Linked DNA regions of Homo sapiens: all the other regions are linked to region 1. Evidence: promoter capture Hi-C in 16 types of primary human blood cells and fetal thymus (Javierre and others, 2016). All regions are on one chromosome and are shown on one strand. Each heading gives the region's core, a stretch centred on a gene start or on the middle of the fragment in contact. The rest is flanking DNA. Distances are from core to core; before and after follow the strand shown.

Evidence for each region. Contacts are between HindIII fragments. The CHiCAGO score rates a contact against its expected background, and 5 or more counts as called.
Region 2: a fragment that was not itself captured here is called in contact with the fragment with the promoter of CYBRD1 in region 1 in 2 of 17 cell types (erythroblasts and megakaryocytes); the score reaches 5.7 in erythroblasts.
Region 3: a fragment that was not itself captured here is called in contact with the fragment with the promoter of CYBRD1 in region 1 in 1 of 17 cell types (megakaryocytes); the score reaches 7.1 in megakaryocytes.
Region 4: a contact is called between a fragment that was not itself captured here and the fragment with the promoter of CYBRD1 in region 1, in 1 of 17 cell types (erythroblasts). The highest score is 5.8, in erythroblasts.

The regions. Positions count from the first base shown.
Region 1 is chr2:171,520,286-171,524,552 of GRCh38, forward strand. CYBRD1 (cytochrome b reductase 1) reads left to right here and starts at 2,189. Exons shown (of 4, transcript NM_024843.4): 1 at 2,189-2,453. The coding sequence starts at 2,261. RefSeq lists an enhancer at 2,278-2,387 and silencers at 2,498-2,607, 2,758-2,827. The HindIII fragment of the contact is 3,994 bases long and covers 169-4,162 here.
Region 2 is chr2:170,947,622-170,951,888 of GRCh38, forward strand. It overlaps GORASP2 (golgi reassembly stacking protein 2), which reads left to right. Exons shown (of 10, transcript NM_015530.5): 2 at 729-809; 3 at 1,918-2,121; 4 at 2,583-2,669; 5 at 3,707-3,837. Among named protein-coding and RNA genes, the nearest start is that of GORASP2, 21 kb to the left of the region's middle. The HindIII fragment of the contact is 3,518 bases long and covers 689-4,206 here.
Region 3 is chr2:170,968,041-170,972,307 of GRCh38, forward strand. It overlaps LOC124906091 (a long non-coding RNA gene), which reads left to right. Exons shown (of 3, transcript XR_007087293.1): 1 at 1-1,423; 2 at 1,899-2,019. Among named protein-coding and RNA genes, the nearest start is that of GORASP2, 41 kb to the left of the region's middle. The HindIII fragment of the contact is 4,971 bases long and covers 1-4,267 here.
Region 4 is chr2:171,006,754-171,011,020 of GRCh38, forward strand. TLK1 (tousled like kinase 1) reads right to left here. Exons shown (of 21, transcript NM_012290.5): 15 at 219-310; 16 at 47-136. Among named protein-coding and RNA genes, the nearest start is that of GORASP2, 80 kb to the left of the region's middle. The HindIII fragment of the contact is 1,794 bases long and covers 1,282-3,075 here.

The DNA.
Region 1 (4,267 bases), core at 939-3,438:
TCCTTGGAGATGAGCTACAGAAGAGGGCTAGAAGTGAACGTTCCCAAATGCATTCTGGAAGCCCTGGCAGTCAGAACCCTTTTTCTTATAATAGCATTAGATAATGCTGACATTGTTTTTGTCCAGTGGAGAAGGGTGAGGATAATGTTGGAAAGAGGGCAGGGAGCAAGCTTCACTTCATCAAGGAGGGGCTTTGGTTCAAATTGGTTTGGGTGGGCGGGCACTTTGAAAATCCATTTGTCACACTAAACGGCAAGTCCAGGTCCAGGAGGTTCCTGTCTTCCCTCTCTCAAGAGCAAACTGCAAGTAGTTTCATTGCAGGATAAGGCCAAGCCCACCGCTGCCCATGCTGTTTTTGTTTTGTTTCCAGACAGAGTCTAGCTGTCACCAGGCTGCAGTGCAGTGGTGCGATCATACCTCTCCTGAGCTCAAGTGATTCTCTTGCCTCCACCTCCCAAAGCCCTGGGATTACAGCTGTGAGACACCTCATGGGGACCCGGTTTACTGGGTTTTTTTTGTTTTTTGTTTTTTGTTTTTTTTTGAGACAGAGTCTCACTTTGTCACCCAAGCTGAAGTGCAGTGGTGCAACCTCAGCTCACTGCAGCCTCGACCTTCTGGGCTCAAGTGATCCTCCTTCCTCAGTCCCCCAAGTAGCTGGGGCTACAGGTGCATGCATTTGTATTTTCAGTAGAGACAGGGTTTCACCTTGTTGCCCAGGCTGTTCTCAAACTCCTGGACTCAAGTGATCTGCCCGCCTTAGCCTCCCAAAGTGCTAAGATTACAGGTGTGAGGCACTGCGCCTGGCCTTTACTGTTAACTTAAAACAAAAAATTATAAATTTGAAAAAAGAGGAGACTTTATTTCTTATAAAAGGTTATAGCCTGCAAGGAGGCCATTCCATAGGCTGATAAACATAGCCTCTGGCCTAAGACCAGAGACAGGCACTTGGAAGGCAGAGGGGTTGGGGTAGGAGCTTTATGCTGAACAGTTTGGCCAAACATACATACGTAACAGGTTACAGGAGGAGCTATGAATATTAATGGAGGTGGTCCTTACACATGCATATTGAACAAACATGCATGTAACATGTTCTCTTTGGGGTGGAGACTTAACATTTAATTGTATTACTTCAAATACATTTAAATGTATTACTTCAAACCTACACTTCAAAAGGTCTTTTCAGGACGTGAATGCATACAAGTGCACAATCCCTGTACACTGGCCAGAACCGGTCCATGGTCGGTCTTCTTATCATGAAAAAGTTCCTGAAATCAGCCCAGTGAAAGCTGTAGTTCTGGCTGGTGCAACAGGGGTTCAGCTGGTCAGCATCTGTGAACTGATTAAGTTGTAATTGTTTTAATATTGCTTATCTCAAGCCAGTGCTTGTTTAGCCTCTAGAGGAAAAGAAAACCTTTGTGGCAGTTAGACCATAGTTTATTTCTTAAGTGTAGGAGTGTGTGACTTAGGTCCTTTTTATAATTTGATGTCTTATTGCTACAAAGAGTCTGTTCTGTCCGCCTTATGATTTCTATTTTAAACATTAATGCTAGTCAGCTGTTGAGTCTAAATTCCAAAATGGAGGGGGTAGACTTCCCTTCCGGCTGTAGCTAGAAACTCAGCTTTAAGGTTTTTCTGGGGTCTGCTTGGCCAAGGAGGTCCATTCAGTCAGTGAGGGGCTTAGGATTTTATTTTTAGTTTACACCACCTTACAGGTTCCTCCTTAACACCCTTTGATGTCAGAGACAGCCAATTCTCCAGCACTGTGGCTAAGGAGGCTTCGTTAGTAGTTAAAAGCACACACATAACCCTACCCAACGGATCCCTCTCTTCTCTTAACCAAGAGGGCGCACCACTGCCCTACTCAACCTCCCCACAAATAAGGACGAGACACGGGAAGTGTTAAAAGCAAGTGGTGAGTATAAAATCCTCGGAATTTTCTCTTTGAGCAACTAACTAGGTCTGTTACTGAAGCCCTCTGCGAGCTTGGATGCTGGACGAGGGAGAGGGTGAGGCCACCAGGCAATGAGCGCCCTCGGCGGCCGCGTGATCCCGGGGGTGGGGCCCATTTCTGAGTTGGGGCCAGCTCCCCACCCCCAAGAGGCCCCACATTCCGGGCCAGCAGCCCAGAAAGTCCCTCCCCGCAGGCGGAGACAGCCCCAAGAAGTCGACGCCCCGGTCCCGCCGCCCGGCCACTACCCAGAGGGCTGCCGCCGCCTCTCCAAGTTCTTGTGGCCCCCGCGGTGCGGAGTATGGGGCGCTGATGGCCATGGAGGGCTACTGGCGCTTCCTGGCGCTGCTGGGGTCGGCACTGCTCGTCGGCTTCCTGTCGGTGATCTTCGCCCTCGTCTGGGTCCTCCACTACCGAGAGGGGCTTGGCTGGGATGGGAGCGCACTAGAGTTTAACTGGCACCCAGTGCTCATGGTCACCGGCTTCGTCTTCATCCAGGGCATCGGTACTGGCACCTCCTGGGGGGGTGCGGGGAGGAAAGCGGGGAGAACGGCGGGGGCAGAGGGTCCTCCGTGAAGCCCCTTCCAGCTGAGGAAGTGCTGGAGGATCGCGGGGCCCGGAGGAGTGCGGTGAGGAGCGCGCGGGAAGCCAAGTCGGCTGGGCGGGAGGGAGGCTGGCTGGCTCTGGGGCGGGACAGAGCTGCGGTTCAGGAGGATCGCCGCGAGCGCGGGGCCGGGGGTGCGCGGTGGAGACGCGCTGCTGGGGGCGGCGGAGCGGGGCCGGCCCCACTTGGTTAACTCTTTGCGGCGACTGGCTAGGACGCACTGGAGGGGCCTCCAAGACCCAGAAACTTGAGCCCGGGCGCGATGCCGGAGCGCCGCGCAGTCGGGCCGCTGCAGCCCACGCGCCCCGGAAAGTCGCCCCTGTGGACCGAGCCTGCGCGATCGGGGGCGCGGAAACACTTTCGCCTCAGCCTTTTGCTGAACTTGCTTCCAGGCTGCAGATGAGGAGGGGAAGGCAGCGGGGAAAAGATTGCCGGAGCGAGAATTTGCCCGTATTTGTAACATCCTCGGCCCTGGGTAAAGGGGCTGGCCAAGGGGGGCGAGTGAAGCATCCGCCCTGGGTTCCTCTCCTCCTAGAGTGTTAAACTCAGTCGAGTCCGGGAAGCTGCCAGGACTTCCAAGTGTGTTTCGCCGCCCTGCCCAGTCATTGGACGGTCTTGAGCCCGACTTGTTTATGTGGCAGAAGAGTGGCGAAAGTTCCCCCGCGGGGCTTCCTATTGGGCACTGGCCCAGCACTCCGGGTGGGAGATGCCCGGAGAGGGCCCGCGGCTGCCTGGCACCGAGGGATGCCTCTGCTCGGGATGCCCCCGGCGCAAGCTGCGTCCGTGTTTGGCCCGCGGCGAGCCAGCCCCGGGCCTGCATTCTCTGGGCTGAGGCTGGCGCGGGGGAGGGGCTCAGCAGTCGCTGGCAATGTTTGTTGTCATTGTGTAGTGCCTCTCAATGTCCTGACTGCTTCCTTCGGTTTGCCGTGTAGCTGGAGGAACCTCTAGCTTTTGGCGCAAACACCATTTATTTGTAACCACTTCCCCAAAGGCACGGCCTTCAGAAAGTAGTTAGAGAAAGGCAGCAAGGGGTGGAGTGGTGTTATGTCGCAGAAAATAATCGAGAGGAGTAGCAAGGGTTTGGAAAGATATGCCCACTGGCCGAAATCTCTAGCTTTGCCTGCGGGCAGGCTGCCTTTTCTTCACCAAATATTTAACTCCCCACAAACGAGTGTGCAAAAGAGTGCTGACCTCATTCCTAAAGAAAAGTGATTTTGGCTTTTGTTTTTGTTGGTTGTTTTAAACTTGTACTGCAGCTTTGGCAAGTGTGGCCAGCATTCTCCCACTCTGGAATGTAGTGGAAGGTGTTACTAACCCTCAGCATTCAAAGGCTTCCCTGGTGTGAGATCGGCATCAGGGTGTGAGATCGGCATCAGGGTGTGAGCACCACTGGGCACCTAAGGCATTTCGTTGCGTAACTCTCAGTTATTTTGCCACTATGCTTATAAGAAAAAAACATACTCAAGTTCCAAAGTAACTGTCAGAAGCACTCTTTCCTTCGTGGTGGAGCCCTTAAGTTTGGCCCCGAGCTGTCTACACCTTGTTTGCTCAAAGAGTAGAGCCAGTCTCCTCTTCTACCCAACTCTTCAGAGCAGCTTCTAATACCAAAAAGCTTTCTGGAGGTCTTGGAATATCTTCTCATAATTGAGGGTAAGGGAAACACAAGTGTTATTGCTCGTTGCCTGACTTGCCACAGAGGAGAAGACATCAGAATG
Region 2 (4,267 bases), core at 1,198-3,697, 570 kb before region 1:
ACATACGTGACTATGTGCCTGTATTTGCTTTGTAACTGAGTGGTGCCTTGCTAGTAGTAGTCAAGGAATAATTGCTTGAATTTGTCACTTAATTGTAGTGACTGTCTGCTGTGTCCCCTGCTAATTGCTGAGAGGATTAGCCCCTTTCTCCCAAAAAAGGAGAAAGTGGTGCAGAAATAGAACCACAGAGGGAAAACCTCATATAGAAGATGAACTAGGCCCGGTGCAGTGGCTCACACCTGTAATCCCAGCACTTTGGGAGGTTGAGGCAGGTGGATCCCTTGAGCCCAGGAGTTCAGGACCAGCCTGGGCAATAAGGCGAAACCCTGTCTCTACAAAAAATACAAAAATTAGTTGGACATGGTGGTACGCACCTATAGTCCTCCCAGGTACTCGGGAGGCTGAGGCACAAGAATCGCTTGAATCAGGGAGGCAGAGGTTGCAGTGAACCGAGATTGTGCCACTGCATTCCAGCCTGGGCAACAGAGGTGGAGTCTGTCTCAAAGAAATAAAATAAAAATATAAATAGAAGATTAACTTAAAGAATGGGTAGAGTTTAGGGAGCTGGACGGGCATTATCTGGGAGAGATGAAGAGAAATGAGAGAACTAGCGTGTACTGTATTTCATTATCAGTGAAATTGGTCTATTTTTACTGAAAAGAGAGATTCGGCTTACAATTTTCACCTAAGCTTTACATTTTTTATTTTTGTCGTTTTTGTTTCCGCAGGTACAAGAAAATTCCCCAGGACACAGAGCTGGTTTGGAGCCTTTCTTTGATTTTATTGTTTCTATTAATGGTTCAAGATTAGTAAGTTCAACTTTCTGTAGTTTTGTCTATAGTATTTGTAATCTCTCAAAAATGGAATTTTTCAGATGACCTGAGATGGGTATTTATTAGTTACAATCATTATGTGTAGTATGCCAATTTATAGAAATAATCATGTATTAATAAACATTGAAATATCTATAATATTATACCTTATGCTCCACTGATTATCTTAGGGAAGTCTCTAGAATCAGTGGAGTCTTTTATATGTTAAATATTTAATTTTTATAAGCAGAAAGAAATAATTAAGATGTAAAAGATTGCTTTTTAAAGATGTCAGACTTCTGTTGGTTGTTGACAAATGGATTACTAGAAAGATTCATTCTCTCATCTCATTCTCTCAAACTCGTCAGTTTTCTTGGTGCTAAGTTTCACAATATATGAATAATGTTATTAGAACCAGACAGAGAGATGTGCTCCAAAGTACCAAATTAAAACCACTTTTTATACCTTGTTTAGAGTTTACCCATAATAAAGTTCTAAGATAAAGAAATTATATAATCTCAGCAAATTCTTAGGACAGTAGCCACTTGGTTGGTTTAATTTTTCGTAACAGTCTTAAGTTTTCGTTCATTACTTACAACATCTCTGACATATAAATAAAGGCCAACATCTGGCCTTTATTTGTTTATGAAATGAAATATTTAATATGCTGTTTCTACTTTCTTTTCTATCCAGCTCTTAATAAAGCATGTATTTAGAAATAGAGTCCAAAATTAAACGTTAACCCCAGTAAATGTTTTAGATTTTTATAATCAAAGTCATCACAACTTCGTTAGTAATGTGACTTCTTATGGCATATTTTGTTTTTACACATTGAAGCCCTAGATCATTCTAAATAATGTTGGGTTGCAAATTCCATAATCCATAATGAGCTATTAGAAAAAAGTCAGTTTCAAGTTGTTGCTAACGTAAGAGTTCTTAATTTCTTGACATTCTTTTACATAGAAGAAAATTTAAATGTTGGTGAAACCTTTGTTGAATGTTTTATTTATGTTGATTATTAATATTACTCTTATAGGGCCATAGGATGCTTAAGCTAACATTAAATTTTTATTTACTAAGGAATGTGATTTCTATGTGTTCACAGAATAAAGACAATGACACTCTTAAGGATCTGCTGAAAGCAAACGTTGAAAAGCCTGTAAAGATGCTTATCTATAGCAGCAAAACATTGGAACTGCGAGAGACCTCAGTCACACCAAGTAACCTGTGGGGCGGCCAGGGCTTATTGGGAGTGAGCATTCGTTTCTGCAGCTTTGATGGGGCAAATGAAAATGTTTGGCATGTGCTGGTACGTATCAACTGTGAACTGTTACTGGAGGTTCATGAAGCAGTGTGGAAAGATGTTTTAACAATGGTTGTTTCTGGCTTAATAAGATTGTAAGGATATTATTAATAGGCAATTTTTGCCAAAAATCAGCGTTCATTGCTTTTTAAGTATGGATCAATTTTTTTTTAAGTTGAGGAAGAGAAGCAAATGTACAAGTTTAAGAACTTTTTCTAATGATTTATTCATTATAAGATGTGTTAGAGTAGATAGCTACAAAAATATTTTAAATATTTGTTAAATATTATGTAATTTTTATGCTCAGAAGTTTAAAATATATTCTGTAGTTTCTGACATCTGACACATCTCTAGCAAGACAGAAGTATACAGATTTAAAAAATCAACATAATTAAAAATTGGACTATAAACCTTGGAAGATTATTTTATATATATTAATTTTAGGGTGTGTGTTTATGTCATTCTAGGAGGTGGAATCAAATTCTCCTGCAGCACTGGCAGGTCTTAGACCACACAGTGATTATATAATTGGAGCAGATACAGTCATGAATGAGGTAATTCGTGTGTTTATTCATAGTGAGAACTATATAAAATTTTCTCATTGAGGTTTGAGTTGAGAAAGATATTTGCATGCTTTGCATTTAGAGTTAAAATTTCAGTCTTTGCTGATCAAAAATAACTTAAGCCTCAGGGTGTTAAATGGAACATCTGGTAGGTGTCTTATTAGGTATAGCTGTGAGGAAAAACACATACTGTGCGGCAATTGCACAGATTTTATGTGTAATATACAGAAATCTTTGCATACCTGAAGTCTAAATCAAATTCTCATTTTCAATTGTTCATTGATTTCATTTTCTCTTCCCCTTTTTGTTCAGTGACAGCATTAGCTCAGCTATATTACATCCTTTTCCTTGTCTCTTAGCTAGCGGAAGTATACATTGCTAAATCAAAAATGAGAGAAAAGGCTGGGCACAGTGGCTCATGCCCATAATCTCAGCACTTTGGGAGGCCGAGATGGGAGAATTACTTGAGCTCAGGAGTTCGAGACCAGTCTGGGCAGCATAGTGAGACCTTGTCTCTACAACAAATACAAAAATTAGCCAGGCATGGTGGTGCATGCCTATAGTCCCAGCTACCTGGGAGGCTGAGGTGGAAGGATCACTTGAGCCTGAGAGGTTGAGGCTGCAGTGAGGCAAAATCATGCCACTGCACTCTAGCCCAGGCAACAGTTAGAGAGACCCTGTCTCAAAAAAAGAAGAAAAAAAAAAGAGTGAGAAATGAGGTGCCCAGACAACCAGGTCTTAATAATGGGAAGTAAAAGCAGAATATGTAGAACTCGGGTGTAAAAGAATTGTACTAAGAGTGCCAACTAGATCTTAAGGAACTGGCCATAAAGCCTTGTATGTAGTAAGTAGGCTTTGCTTGAATTAATATATTGAATTAAACCTGCTTGTGATTTTTATGTCTGGGGCAGGGCCCAGAATCTGTATTTTTTTCTTAGATTTCTCAGGTGATTCTGATAGCCAGGTTTGAGACACACTGTTCCAAAGTATGGTAACGTGAAACATTTTCTCCTGTGACACTTTTGCAGTCTGAAGATCTATTCAGCCTTATCGAAACACATGAAGCAAAACCATTGAAACTGTATGTGTACAACACAGACACTGATAACTGTCGAGAAGTGATTATTACACCAAATTCTGCATGGGGTGGAGAAGGCAGGTAAGGTCATTTTTTAGACTAAGTTATGACTGCTTAAACATACCAGTCAGATATGTTGCAGACATTGATTGTTTTTATTTTGAAAGAAATTACTGGTTTATTTTAAGACTCCTCTTAAAAAAAAGGGAAGAGCTAGTCTAGAATATTGAAACCAATTTTTTTAAAGTACATATCTAGGGAACATAGTATATATACTATAGTCCTTTTCTTTACTAACCTAAGAGCTAACAGCATTTCTTTTTAATTGAGAAATTATTGCGCATAAGCCATAATTATAGAAAAGCCTAGAATTTGGAAACATTCCACATGTTTTCAAAAGTTCTAATCCCATGCTGGGAAAAGGATAACTTAGTTGCTGCAGGCAGGAAAAGCTTCCGTTTGCTCACAGTATCTTTACCCACACTACCTGAGATTCTCCAGCTGAATGTTT
Region 3 (4,267 bases), core at 655-3,154, 550 kb before region 1:
TGGATCTTCCCTGAGGTGGAAAATACTTCATTATTTTCTGCTGTCTTCAGAAAAGCCAGTTTCAGTCTTTAACAGTGGTAGATTTGGTACCAGGTTCCAGAAACACGATGTAAGAGAGAGTTTCCCTGACAGTGGGCCACTCTCCGTGGCCTTGTAGGGAGACAGACCAGGGAGTCAGTCCTTAGGGCCAAGGCAGAAGGATTGCTTGAGCCCAGGAGTTGAAGACCAGCCTGGGCAACATAGACCCTGTCTCTACAAAAAATTTAAAAATTAGCTGGGCGTGGTGGCACGTGCCTGGAGTCCCAGCTACTCAGGAGGCTGAGGTGGGAGGATCCCTTGAGCGCAGGAAGTCAAGGCTGCAGTGAACTGTGAGGAAACCATGCAAGGTTAGGAAAAGTCTTGAGTGTTTGTGTGCATGGGGCTGGGGCCTGTGTGCTGGACTAGGGAGTTTGAGCTTTGGCTTAAATACGGCAGTCATGAAGGCTGGAGGGGCAGCACAGTGGGGGACCAGCTTCAGGAGGGACGCTCACCTGAACCCCCTTTGCTAAGACTCTGAGTCTAGGATGACGACTGTGTTACTCTGTTCTGACACTGCTATAAAGAAATACCCAAGACTGGGTAATTTTATAAAGGAAAGAGGTTTAATTGACAGTTTCACGTGGCTGGGCAGGCCTCAGGAAACTTACAATCATGGCAGCAGAAGAGAAGCGCAAGCAGGGGAAATGCCAGAGGCTTAGGAAACCATCAGATCTCGTGAGAACTCACTCTCACGAGAACAGCAGTGGGGAAACCACCTCCATACTCCAATCACTTCCCACCGGATCCCTTCCTCCACACGTGGGGATTATGGGAACTACAGGAAGAGATTTGGGTGGGACACAGCCAAACCATATCAGTGACTTTACCTTTTCCCCTCTGATTTTTGTTCCTGTTTTATTTTTAGTCCATTACTAATTGTGCTTACCTGGGAGCAGCTTAACTTAGCTCATTTTCTGAAAATTCTGGAGACCTAGAAATGGCCTTGTGGCCTCTTCCTCACCTGAAAGGCACCTACTAAAGCTCAAAGATGGCTCTGCCTTGGATGTCCAAAATTTCTGCTTTTGACTATAGTGAAGATGAGACTGGTGAGCTGCTGGAGCTACGGTAGTGACATGGAAGCCCTGATCCCACCTTTAAGGAACCTGTGGTTTAGGCGGGAACATGAGGCAACTTCATGCAAACTGCAGCAAGTGAAGAGTCTCAGCTGAGCAGAGACCTGGAGAGTCTGGGTGAAGGGAACATTCTCTGGCACCTGAAGAAGGCTTAGCCAGACCTACATTTTAGCAGGTGGAGAAGGAGTTAAAAAAATCCAAGCAGGAGCCCTAAGGGAGCTCACAGTAGGAAAGCCATGGGTGTTAAAGCCTCCAGCAGCAGTTGGCTACAGGTGCATTTTATTAGAAAATTTAATACATCTTATTTAAAGGATTTATTTGTGAAAAGTTTTTTCTTCCAGAGAGTGGCCCGATTTTATCAGTAACTTGTGAAGGAAGGTTGGGTCTTCTCCCTGTGACCCTGAAGATGAAGGTCTTCTTTAATTATCTGACTACCCAGCAAGGTTTCAACCCTGTCTTCAGATTAGAATCGCCTCAATTAGAATATTAATTCCTGGGCTCTTGGAGTTTTTAAAAACTTCCCCAGGGAGGGTGGACCTGTAACTGCGGGAGGTAACAGGGGCATAGGAAGGTCATCGTTCTTGCTAGGTGTTTACTTTTACCACTAAGCAAAGTGCACAGGTTAGAGGAGGGATCCTTTTGTCATTTATATATATATATATATATATATATATATATATATATATATTTGCATTAGATCTAGGAAGAACAATTTCCGACTTGGCTAACCAAAGTGTTCCTTTATAGGCCTTTTGCATATCGAGCCAATTGATAAAATGGGGAATTAATGCCACAGCCAGTTATTCAAGCACTAGAACAAGAAGACGTGGAAGGGCAAGTGGGCCCCACTCCCAGCTGGGGGCTGCAGGTGAGGGGGATGGGGAGGGGTGAGGAGAGTGAGAATGTGCAGCAAAAGAGCAGAGGAGTAAGGAGTGCAGACAGGTGCAGATGCCGCCCCACTGCCTCTCCAGGGAGTTACACGAACGTGGGTACTCTGGTCACTGACAGTTTAGAGAAAACGCCACACTGCAGCCATTGATGGAGGTGGGCCTCGGACTTTCAGTGTTACCAGAGTTGAGGTTACACTGTATTTCCTGGCAAGAAATAGATACAAGCCCATGCTCCATGAAGGCCGCTGGGGTTTGGGATAATAACAGTAGCCAGCATGTATTAAGTGTTTCCTGTACATGGGGTGAATAATGAGATAAGACAGTGCTCTGCCCAGCAGACGAGAGGAAGCAAACAGGTTCCCCCTAGGCATGTTTCCTTTGAACTCCCCTGTATATATTAAAATGTGAATTAATTGCCAACATTTAAAAATCAGAAGGTTTCACATAAATCCAGATTTCTGGTTTCTCAAAGTCACAAGATCTGGCAACAGATCAGTCCTACAGGGAAATGAATGCCCCTTGGAGTCTCTGTCCTCCAGTCTCCAATTCCCACAGCCCCACCTGCGTGCGCCAGCCCCCCTCCCACCACCCGCAGGTGTCTGAGTTTGCAGAGCCCTGTGTTATCCTGGTAGTAACACAGCTGAGTCTGGGGAGAGGGGAGGGATAGCTGGGAAACTGAGGTTTCCTTACAGTCAGCGGGGCCAGAACCCGTGGGGACCCAGGATTAGGAAACAAGGTCCTTCACGGATTTCATTATTTAGGATCCAATGAATCGTGTGGAATGGGCACTAAGGTTAGCAAAATTTGAAGTAGTTGCTTAGACTGTAAACCTGATGGAGAAAATGTCCCTGGACAATGACTGGGACAGTAACAGCAATTTGAGTTTCACTAGTCTCTTTTCCTAAAGCCATATTCTGGGTCCCCAACCCATTGATCATTTACCTTAACAACCAACTCTATTGGAATTGATCATTCTCTTTTCCAGAGACCAAGGGTTGTGAATAAGAGTTCATGAATCCCTGACTGGCTTTCTTGCCGTCCACTCTCCATGGCCTTGCTTCCTGGGGAGGGGCCTGTTTGCCCAGCTCTGCCCAGGCTGGCCTGGTTTGAGACCCATACTAAGAAGTCTGCCTGAGGTTCAGGGCAAGCCTCTTCCAGAAGCACTTGAATTATGGTGGCTGGGGGTGGGGTTACAGGAACTTCTCATTTCTTCTCATAAACTTGCATATTGCCAGAATTTTTAAAACCACAATTACTTTTTATTATTTTATTTTACTTTTTTTTTTTTTTGAGATGGAGTCTTGCTCTGTCACCCAGGCTGGAGTGGAGTGGCGCAATCTCGGCTCACTGCAACCTCCCAGGTTCAAGCAATTCTCCTGTCTCAGCCTCCTGAGTAGCTGGGCTTACAGGCATGTGCCACCACGCCCGGCTCATTTTTGTATTTTTAGTAGAGATGGGGTTTCACCATGCTGGTCAAGCTGGTCTTGAACCCCTGACCTCAGGTGATTCACCTGCCTCGGCCTCCCAAAGTGCTGGCATTACAGGCGTGAGCCACCGCGCCAGGCTTCGAATTGCTTTTTTTTGTTTGTTTGTTTGTGTTTTTTTTGAGACGGAGTCTCGCTCTGTCGCCCAGGCTGGAGTACAGTGGCACTATCTCTGCTCACTGCAAGCGCTGCCTGCTGGCTTGACGCCATTCTCCTGCCTCAGCCTCCCAAGTAGCTGGGACTACAGGCGCCCGCCACCACGCCCGTCTAATTTTTTGTATTTTTAGTAGAGACGGGGGTTTCATCGTGTGAGCCAGGATGGTCCCGATCTCCTGACCTCGTGATCCATCCGCTTTGGCCTCCCAAAGTGCTGGGGTTACAGGCGTGAGCCACCGCACCCGGCCTGAATTACTTTTTAATCACTAACAACAATGGGGTTATTTTGATCTAGGGGGTGTGGATGAATGGGAGACTTACAGAGCCAGAAAAAGCCCTGTTCCGGGCCAGGCGCGGTGGCTCACGCCTGGAGTCCCAGCACTTTGGGAGGCCGAGGCAGGCGGATCACGAGGTCGGGAGATCGAGACCATCCTGGTCAACATGGTGAAACCCCGTCTACTAAAAATACAAAAATTGGGCGTGGTGGCAGGTGCCTGTAGTCCCAGCTACTTGGGAGGCTGAGGCAGGAGAATGGCTTGAACCTGGGAGGCGGAGGTTGCAGTGAGCCGACATCATGCCACCGTAC
Region 4 (4,267 bases), core at 929-3,428, 510 kb before region 1:
AGCAAGCATATCTTTCCTTAAAAATTGAACCTTAATATTCACTTACGTATCTGTATCCAAGGAGAAATAATCATAGAGTTTAACTATTCTGGGGTGATCCAGTTCTTTGTGTATTCTATACTCTCTGCAGGCATGTCTATGAGAAGACAGTGTATTAATTCTCCATGATCATTCAAAAAATATTCAATTTTAAAAAACCATAAAGTATTAGTATTTACTTGTGGTAGTTTTCTTTCTTCTCATCTCTCCAGCTTTTATTAAGCTGATGTATCTTCACAGCAGCATATCTTTGTTCATAAAGGTCAAAAGCCTAGGATTTCAAGTCAAAAACAATTAAGATGAAAGACCAATTGAATAGCTGAAGAGATGTTTTTTATTTTGGTGATAATTTTTGCAATAATATGGAATTAGGACAAACCCTACAATTATTAATGATCTTCTCTGCTAAGACTATATATAGCTCAATGACACTTTTATTATCAGAAGACAGAAATTCCATGGTAATAAATCAGAGAAAACCTTAATGTGAATTTTCACATTAAATTTTATAAATGCCAATATACTGAATAAAAATAAAACAATAAAGCTATTATTTGTTTTTAATATGGACTTATTCCTCTATACTAGTAGTAAGCAGCCAGGAAAACAGATGACTGTACCACTTTTTTTGTAGGTTGGATAAAACCTTTTAAATCTATCTTTTCCTAGCAACCCCCTATTTCTTTCTCACTTTTTAGAAAAATTAAAAAGTTCCTAACAGTTATTTTTCCAACTGTTGAAAAAAACTCGTTATTATAAAACTGTTCAAACATATACACAAGTAGACTACTATAATGTGCCCTTATGCCCCTACCATCCAGTTTCAAAAATTACCAATATGTTGCCATTCTTGTTTCATCTATTCCCTAGTACCCTTGCATCCCACCCTTCCCAACCAGAGTATTATTAAAACAAATACATTATTTCTCCCAGTAAACACATCAGTATTTAAATAAAAATAACCACATACCATTATCACACCTAACTACATCAGTAATAATTCCTTCATCTCATCTAATACCTAACCTGTCTTCAATTTTCCCTGGTTGTCTCAAAAAGAATTTATACTTGATTTGTTCAAATCACCAGCCTATTTCTTAAATTAAAAACACAGAATGATCAGTATTTTAACAGCTTTACATGACTTATGTTTTTTTAAAAAGCAATGAATACCATTAAAGAGACATTTAATAATTTTGGTTCCATTGTGATTTACACACAAAGGTGCCCCTTTCACTTAAAAGCTTACGTATTTATTAGAAAGAAGGTCCCCATTTCCTCCCATCAATTTAACCTAAAAATAAGCAGGAAGGGATAAGCAGTAAAGTGACTACTTTGGTACAAAACTATAAAAGTATGAGATCAGATATAATATAGCACACAGTTGTTAAGAATATTCTGTTTGCAATCAGATTAGCTTATTAGCTGAGTGACTCTGTGCTAATACCCTCTCTGAGCCCCAAAAGTTAGGGTTATTGAGAGGATTAAATGGGGGTAAAACATATGAGGTGTTTAGAATAATACATGGTACGGCCAAGAAACATTAGCTAATTACATATTATTATTAAGGGTTAAGTGTAAAGAAACTGAGAAGAATAAAAATAAAGTAAGTTTATATAAGGGACAAGGCGGAACAAATCTATAAAGAATTCAAGGCAATCATAGTAAAGGATAATTGAAGAAAAAACTAAGCAAGCAATAAAAAGTTATTATCAGAGTATACTGATTATAATAAATTATATGTAACACATCTTCCTCCCAAAATTTCAGGTGAGTAGAAGTATACCTTTCCATAAGGTTAATATGGCAATCACTCAGCAACTGACTCAACATCTCCCATCCTGGTATAAAATACAACTCTTTACTTCTTGACTTACAATCTGCTTTTTGTCTAGTTGTTTCCCAACAGAACTGGCAATCATGAAAGGGCTTTAAAGGGCTTAGAGAATGATGTCACTAGTATTTAGGTCAGTATAGAAAGTTCAAGTCACTGGGCCCCAATCTGCACTTTCTAATCTCTATGTAAGCCTCTTCTACAAAAGTCCTCACCTATGAGGGTAAAATAGTTATTTAAAATACAACCAGGCAGTAGCAGAGGGTTGTTATGAAGGCTCATGGTAAGTTCATAAGCTCAACAACTTTTAGGCCACGCTAATGCTAACTGCACTTTTAGTGACTTTTAGATCCCAGCTGAACTATCATGATAATCTTTTCTACCTTATGGTAAGCCTACTTCACCCATTAAGTGCTTAAGGATAAACTATTATTAGAATCAGAGAAACAGGAATTGGAAGAGAGCCCAAAGATCACTTTTGATGAATGAGGAAGGTGAGGACCCTGACGTGTAATGCTTATCTAAGTTAACAAAAAATAGTGCATGGTTGAACTGATACCAGAACTGAAGTTCTCTTAACTCAAATCCCATAATTTTTCCAAGTCAGAAGCAGAAACGAGAAGGGTGTAGTCTTTGTCCCATGCAACAGTCAGGATTTCTTTTCCTTTTTTTTTTTTTTTTTTTTTTTTTTTTGAGAGAAAATGTCTCCCTCTGTCCCCCAGGGTGGAGTGCAGTAGCACAATCTTGGCTCACTGCAACCTCCCACCACCAAGGTTCAAGCGATTATCATGCCTCAGCCTCCGAGTAGCTGGAACTACAGGCATGTGCCATCATGCCTAGCTAATTTTTTTCTTGTATTTTTAGTAGAAACGGGTTCGCCATGTTGCCCAGACTGGTCTTGAACTCCTGAGTTCAGGCAATCTGCCTGCCTTGGCCCCACCAAGTGCTAGGATTACAGGTGTGAGCCATGGCCAACAAGCAGGATTTCTAATAATCTTATCAGCTTATCTCAGCACCTATGTTCTATATGATTTACATGTGATAACTCAGTTAATCACTGCAACAACCCTATAATGTAGGTATTGTTATTATTCTCAGAAGGAGCCAATGAGTCAGACAGGGATTTAAATAAGAAGCCCAAATTAATAAAATTAGTAAATAGCAGTCAGGATTTAAACCTAGCTGTCTGGCTTCAGAACCAAAGCTTTTAACCAACTATGCCAGTACGTAATGAAGCACAAAGGAGCTTATAAAAAGGCACACCAAATCTATCAGAGAAGATGCAGAGGGTCAGGGAAGCTGTTTAGAGGAACTAAAGATGAGCATATAACCCTTCACTAGGACTTCATCCCAAGAGCAAATGGGAAGCTACTGGGGCTTTCAAGTAGGACAGATGATCAGGCTGCCTTTTATAAAAAGTTCACTCTAGTTGCAGTGTACAAAATGACTTGAGAAAAGCAATGCCCAAAAGAAGACAATCAGCTATGAGGTTCCGGAAGAAGCCTTGAGCTAAGAGACAGAAGGGAAGGGTCATGGCTGAATTTAGGAGAACTTAATGACATTAATAATAGCAGGAACTAGGGGCTTATAATATGTGAGGGGAGGGGAACAAAGGGAAAGGAAGAGCATACGATGGTTTTTGTGTTTTTTCACTTGAGGGACCAGGCAGATGAATGGCAATGTTATATACTGAGGTCAGGGAAGTCAGAAGCAGTGTTAAAAGACATTTTAGAGGAGAGGAAGATAACTTCTATTTCAAATGTGAGTTTCCAGTACCTATGAAGCACCCACATGAGGTAAGTCATGTATACAAACATACTTTGAGGTATTGAACTCAGGAAGAAAGTGTGAGCTAGATATTACCTGGGGGTGACACCAAATAGATAACCCAGTGAATGAGAGAGGATAAAAACCTTCTTAAGGGAGAATACAGAATGATAAAAGGGACCTTAGGAATCCAATATTTAAAGGTTAGGCTAAAAGATACAACATAAAGTACAAAAAAAAAAAAAAAGAAAGGCATAAAATAGTGAACATGGGGAGTAAAAATGCTACATTTATACATATGCATTTGAGAAACGGACTTGACATAGGTAGAAATTTGGATAAATTCAGGACATGTTAATACTTCAGACATTTTTTAATTAAGGGGTACAATCTTTCTATAAGTGTACTGTATTAAATGGCTACCTGCCTATCTTGATTTAAATAGCTGTTACTCTTTGTATTGGACTGGTTAATGGTGACTAGGTATCAAATATCACAGGGACTGTGCAGGTGGCAAGGACAGTCTTTGGATTCTGGAAATAAGACAACAGAAGCCACAACAAACCCTTTTTTATAATGAGGACATATAATCAATAAACAAAAGACAAGTACTTCTTTTTTTTGTTT